Linked DNA regions of Homo sapiens: region 1 is linked to region 2. The links are contacts of gene promoters, found by promoter capture Hi-C in human tissues and cell types (Jung and others, 2019). All regions are on one chromosome and are shown on one strand. The core of a region is centred on a gene start or on the middle of the fragment in contact, and the rest is flanking DNA. Distances in the headings are between cores, read along the strand shown.

Region 1 (3,238 bases), core at 371-2,870, 220 kb before region 2:
GGGTGGGATTGAACCGGTTCCTCTGGATACCCTTCCCCCCAAGGCTTCCAATCCTGGAGAAGGAGCACCAATGACCTTTGACCCTTCTCTGGGAGAAAGGGAGGCAGGTGAGCTCACAGCCTCTTGGGACCCAGGAGAAGGAGAAAGGAAGAAAGGGCGCACAATTCCTGGGGAGGGAGCGGGAGCGGGAGCGGAAGGAAGTGAGGAGTAGGAAGAAGCAGAGACAGACACACAAACTGGCGGAGAGTCCACAGGGCTGCTGAGAAGAAAGAGATCACACCGAGAGTGGGGCCACGGGAACTGGCACTGGGAACAAGGGCTTCCGCCGCTCTAAGTGACGCCCGAGGGTGGGAGAGAAGGGAGAAGCCCTTCGGGCAGGCGATAGGAAAGGGCCCCTGAAGAGGAGAAAGCGACAGAGAGAAGTGCAACTGGGAGAGGCCGGGAAGAGGTGGATGGGAAAGGAGACTAGCGGTCGGGGAGGCAGTTGTGGAGCCAGAGAGGTGGTCCCCCCTTCCCATATCGCCGGCCGTCCACTGGCCCCAGGCTTGGGGTAGTCCTCAGGAGTCGGGCACCCCCTCAAAGCACTGTTGGAGATGGGGTGAGGTTGGGGACAGGGCACCTACTCCACTCTCAGAGCCCTTCTCCCCAGTCAGAGCCCGGTGGCTAGTTTCTCTCCAAACCATCAGCACAACTCCCCGCCGGGCAAGAAAGAGTTAAGCCCTCTCCCCCTCCCCCCACACCAGCTTTTTATTAATTTCTCCGGGCGTCGGGCGGGAGGGAGGGGATTAGGGCCATAAATCCTATCTCCGCCCCCTCCCCTGACAGCCCGGCACCCCAGCCCCGTGCGGTCCCCCTAGGGATAGGGGAAGAAAGGCCCTTGTCGCTTAGCCCTGCCCAACCCCACTCAGGGTCCCACCGCGGGCCCGAGTGGCCCTAGCCCCAGTTCCCGGTCCACCCCAGGGCGCCCGGCCCCTCACCTCCGGCATCGGTCATCTTCAGCGTCTGGCGCCCCGGGAACCCCTCAGGCCCATGGTGCTCGAGGCGGGGGCCGGGCAGGAGAGGGGTGGGGGGACCGTCACCCCGGCCGCGGGGGGCTCCGGGCGGGCTCGAGCCGCTCCATCCCGGGGGTGGGGGTGAGGTCGGCGGGAAGGGTCCCAGAGCCGGGGGAGATGGAGGGCGGGGGATGTGGGGAGAGGGAACAGGTTCGCTGGAAGCAGGAGGCGCGGGCGGGGCTGGACCAGGAGACCTGACGGGAGGATGCTCCGTGTGTGTGTGCGTGTGCGTGTGCGTGTGTGTGTGTGTGACAGAGAGAGAGAGAGAGAGAAGAGCGAAGAGCGAGCGCCACCTCCCTCCCCGCCCCTGCCGCCCGCCAGGCCTGGCCGGACGCGGGGCCCCCGCCTGGCAGGGCCGATTCGCGCGGCGTCGCGTCGGCAGGGGTCCGCGGGGGTCTCCGGGGAAGGGGCGTCGGGGTGGGGGGCGCGTGGCGGAGAAGCCGGGCGCCCAGGAGACAAAGAGCGGGAGGGAGCGAGGGGGCGGGGGCGGGGGAGGGCGGCGGGGAGGAGGCGGCTGGGGCCGGGGAGCGGAGTTGCAGCTACTTCTCTGCCCGCGGGAGACGCGGCGCACCGGAGTCTGCGCGGGTGGGAGCGGCTCCGGGGCGGTCCCGCCACGGGACCCACGGGGCTTCCGCCTCCTCTGCCGGGTCCATCAGGGCTCCCGATTAGTTCATTCATTCAACAAACGTCCGCCGAGCAGCCGGGGCGCCGAGGCTGGAGGGGACAGCGGTGAACAGAACCCCCGCCCCCTAACTGCGCTCAAGGCCAGTGGGCCAGTCGGGGGCTCAGACGAGTGGGGAGGCCCTCACGAGCCTGGGCGCCATGGGCCCAGCTAACAGAGGGCACTTCTTGCCGGAAGGGAGAGCGCACCCCTGGCCCGGCCTGGGTCCAGGCGGCCGCGGCGGGAGCTGGGCTGGGGGATTCCCAGAGGATGTGATGTGTTGGCTACAACTGCGGGCCAGGGTAGGGAAGTGCCAGGGGGTGTTGGGGGTGGGAGGGCAAGAGGGGAAGATAAATTGAAGCTGGGGAGGTGCAGGGGGCTTGCACTTTATTCTACCAGCCGCCCACCCCGCCGCCCACACACACACACACACACACACACACACGCGCGCGCGCGCACACACACAAAATTAAGAGGAGGGAGGGGCTCAGGTGTGCATTTAGGAAGCACCCTTGGCTCCCCTGGAGACAGGGTTACAGAGGGCACTCTGAAGGCAGGGAGACCCGCTGGAGGCTATTGAGGGCCGGTGGCAGTGGGCATAAAGATTACAGATTAAGCTGAGAGCCCTTCAGGATGCAGGCCTGAAGAAGCTGACACCGAAGAAGCTGACAGGATTTGGGGACCTGCTGGACTAGGAGGTGAGGGAGGAGGGGTCTAGGATGGCTGTGGACCTTGGCTTGAGGCAGGAAGCCCTGGAGCAGGTGGGGGTGGGGACGGATGAGATCAGACTTGGACCCAGTGCGCTGATGGTAGTGGCAGGCCAGCCAGGGAGGCAATGTAGGGATCCACAACCAGCTACCGCACGTCACAGCTTGGCAGGTGCCAGGCGCTCTCAGATCATCTATTGTCACCCTCACAATAAACCCACAAGGTGGGTGTTTCCATTACCCACTGCCTCAGAGAAAACAGAGACTTAGAAGAAGGAAAGTGCTTTGCTCAAGAGCAAGTGGTGAAAGGCCAGGCGCAGTGGCTCACGACTGTAATCCCAGCACTTTGGGAGGCCAAGGTGGGTGGATTACATGAGGTCAGGAGTTCGAGACCAGCCTGGCCAACATGGTGAAACCCTTGTCTCTACTAAAAATACAAAAATTAGTCAGGCATGGTGGCGCTACTCTGGAGGCTGAGGCATGAGAATTGCTTGAACCTGGGAGGTGGAGGTTGGAGTGAGCTGAGATTGTGCCACTGCCTTTCAGCCTGGCCAACAGAGTGAAACTCAAATCTCAAAAAAAAAAAAAAAAAAAAAAAAAAAAAAAAAAAAAAAAGGCAAGTGGTGAAGCTGGATCAGGGGTCTAGAGTCAGAGGAGAGGTGTGGAGTCTATAGGACAGAGTTCCCTGATGGCCCACAGGACTCTGCAGTCCGAGGCCTCCGGGAAGTGGCCTGTTGAACCAGGACAATCTTGTGACTATGAGTGAGGACAGAATTAACAGCCTTTAGGGTCTGAGGGTATCCTAGGGGATTTATAGG
Region 2 (2,915 bases), core at 415-2,914:
ATTTTCATTGTTGTGGGGGGAATTCTTGGCAGGTAGAAGTCCCTAGAGGATCTGATTTAATGAGCACACAAGATCAATATTTAATTAACATATCAATTGCCGGGATGTCAACTGATGTTTTCCAAAATCATTGAAGTGTAGGCTCTCTTAAGTAGCCAAACTGTCGTCGGAAACATAGTTTACAATTCTCCCATTTAACAAACGCGGAGGAACAGAATGATTACAAATGCTAAAGCGCAGAAGACGATTAAAGGAGGTTATTTATGTACCATCAAATGCTTGTGTATCCTGTACACATCAGTTTAGAATTCTCTCATCAACCCAACCTTGTGGCAACTTCCAAACCCCTCCATCATGGCCTTCTAACTTTTCAAACTTTTTTTTTTGTAAGCCACTTCTCTTTCCAGACCTCTCTGTAGTGGTTCCTAACGTCTTCCCTTTAAACCTTCTAACTTGTGTTTGCTATTTTTATGACTTCCTCCTCCCAGTGCCTGGCTTCCCCAGCTGGGGATTCACCTTGCTTTGGTGGCCACTGTTTTGCTCTTCTCGCCTTCCCTCTCTCCATGGGCCTGCCAGGCTTAGGGAAGGCCGCAGGTGCTTAGACCTTGTCCAATGCGGTGCTCATTGAACACGCCGGGTTCTCAAACAAATGTTAGGGACAGCTGGTTAGACGGGAATCTGGGCCTCCCCTGCTTGCTTTCCGCAACATTTCTTGAGCATTGCTGGGTGTCCAAGGCAGGGCGAGATCCCAGAGCAGTCACGACCGGATGTATGATTGGTGCTCACTGCACAGTGCTGGGGACGCACAGGGAGGATGCCACTGATGGTGTAGGGGGTGGGGACTTGGCAGAGGGAGCAGCATGTGTCGAGGTCTACTGGTTCTCCAAGTTTGGTCCCAGAGCAAAGGCATCAGCATCACCTGGGAACCTGCTGAAAATTCTAATGCTTAGGCCTCACTACCGACCTACCAAAGCAGACACTCTGGGGGAGGGAGGAGGGGCACTAAAAATCTGTTTTATCAAGACCTCCAAGAGACTCCAACACACGCTAGAGTAGTTTGAGAACCACGACTCTGGGAGCGGCCTGAGGATGCTTAGGATGAGCGCAGAGCGGAAAGGAGGATTCGTGAAGGCTCTCTGATGCCAGTCAAGGGGTTAGACTTTGCCCCGCAGGTGCGGCCTCCAGGTTTTTAAGCAGACGCCTGTGGCTCTCACACGCCCTCTCCCAAGGCGGCGTCTCTGGGAGCCCTGGCGTTCCCTGGGCCCCCGGGACCGAGAGCTTACCCGCGTGGGACTGAACTCGCCCACGACCCCCGACACCAGGCAAGAGAGGTTGTGCCGCAGACCCTCCACTCCCCAGCACCAGGCGCTCGCCGTCCAGGTGGAGGGGAGCACACGTGGGAGCCAGGGGCACCGGCGGAGACACGAGCGCAGAAGGCACGCGCTCAAGCCCACGCCCGCGACTGCCGGGACTGAAGGTGTTGCGAGCCCCGGCTCCACCCCTAGCCTGCGGTGCGCCGTGCTTTGGCCCCGCAGGCCCCGCCCCCGGCCCCGCCCCGGCGCGCGCCCGGCCCGCCTCCCTAGGCGTGGAGGAGGGGGGGCGGCTCAGCCCCGCGCCCGTGCGCGCGCTCGCGGCCGGGTTGCAGGGCTGGGCGCGCGCCCCGCGTCCCGGGCAGGAAGATGGTGGCGAGCGCGCGAGTGCAGAAGCTGGTGCGGCGCTACAAGCTGGCGATTGCCACGGCGCTGGCCATCCTGCTGCTGCAGGGCCTGGTAGTGTGGAGCTTCAGCGGCCTGGAGGAGGACGAGGCGGGCGAGGTGCTCCGACGGCCGGGCGGGCGGGCAGGCCGGGCGCGGGGGCGCGCGGGGTCCTGGCGGGGCTGCGGGCGGCCCCAGCCGGGGAAGTGGGGCACGGGCCGCGTGCGTGCGTGCGGGGCGCCGGCGGTCGCCCAGAGCGGAGCATCCGGCCCCCGGCACTCCCTTCCCCAGCAGGCCTAGGGAGCTGCGCGCGGGGGCAGTGCGTGACCTGGAGACCCGGGCCCTGGTGGATTGGGAGTCGGGCGGGGGGAGCAGGTCATGCTAGGGTGGTCTCCGGCCAAGGGAGCGATGAAGGTCAGGCGCGGCGAGCGGGGCTGGGAGGCGGGGCTGGGCCCGAACCTGCTCGGAGGTGGGGAGCCCCAGGCCAAACTTTCTGAAGTTGGGAGGGGGCGGGGATATGCGCGCCGTGGGCGGAGGAGTAGGGCCAAGGGACTCAGGGCGTCCTTCCCCAGCTGAGCCCGAGGGGCAGCGGCCGGTGAGGAAGGGGAGCTCGGGGGTGGAATTCAGGCCTGGGACAAAGTGTGTACCCGGGAACTGAAGGAACAGGGAGTGACGCCGAAGGAGAGAACTGGAGTATTCCCGAGGTGTGGCTTCCTCAGCCGGGGGTTTGAAGAACCTGGATGGGTCTCCGGAGGGCAGGGAGAGGAGGAACTGAGCTGGTGAGTTGGCCTCAGGACCTTAGGGAATTAGGGAGGGGCCCTCTGGCTTTAAGGGAATGGGGACTGTAACAGAGCCCCAGCCGCAGAGCAGGGGCAACCAACAGCCGTCTCAGCCCCCAAGTCCCTGCCTCGAGGGTCTTTCTCCCTCTTCCCCGATGTGGTTTCAGCGGGAGGCTCAGACACCTCAGCGGTGTGGTGAGGAAGGGTCCATTGGGTCTGGGTTCGTGCTGCGGAGATGGAGAGGACAGGCCACACCACAGCCCTAAGCTGTGGCCCAGAGGTCAGGACCTCCCTGCCCCCAGCGCCCCTGTTCTGCTGCCTCCAGGGCTCCGGGTCAGAGACTCTATCTGCTGCTGTCCTCCGGCAAGCCCCGATACCCGCGACCCCTTACCGCATCTCGCCAGTCTGGAAGGCCTGGTGTGGAGACAGAAGAGCTGCCCTT

The links. The method cuts DNA at HindIII sites, captures the fragments that hold promoters and counts their contacts. A contact is called where the count stands out against the background at its distance.
Region 1: the fragment with the promoter of SAMD14 here is called in contact with the fragment with the promoter of XYLT2 in region 2 in 2 of the 25 tissues and cell types used here (H1 embryonic stem cells and mesenchymal stem cells).

Annotation. Positions count from the first base shown.
Region 1 is chr17:50,128,540-50,131,777 of GRCh38, forward strand. It overlaps SAMD14 (sterile alpha motif domain containing 14), which reads right to left and starts at 1,621. Exons shown (of 10, transcript NM_001257359.2): 1 at 978-1,621. RefSeq lists silencers at 1,337-1,396, 1,637-1,716. The HindIII fragment of the contact is 12,261 bases long and covers 1-3,238 here.
Region 2 is chr17:50,344,462-50,347,376 of GRCh38, forward strand. XYLT2 (xylosyltransferase 2) reads left to right here and starts at 1,665. Exons shown (of 11, transcript NM_022167.4): 1 at 1,665-1,814. The coding sequence starts at 1,680. RefSeq lists silencers at 1,452-1,651, 1,712-1,811, 1,882-1,971, 2,787-2,915. The HindIII fragment of the contact is 7,409 bases long and covers 1-2,915 here.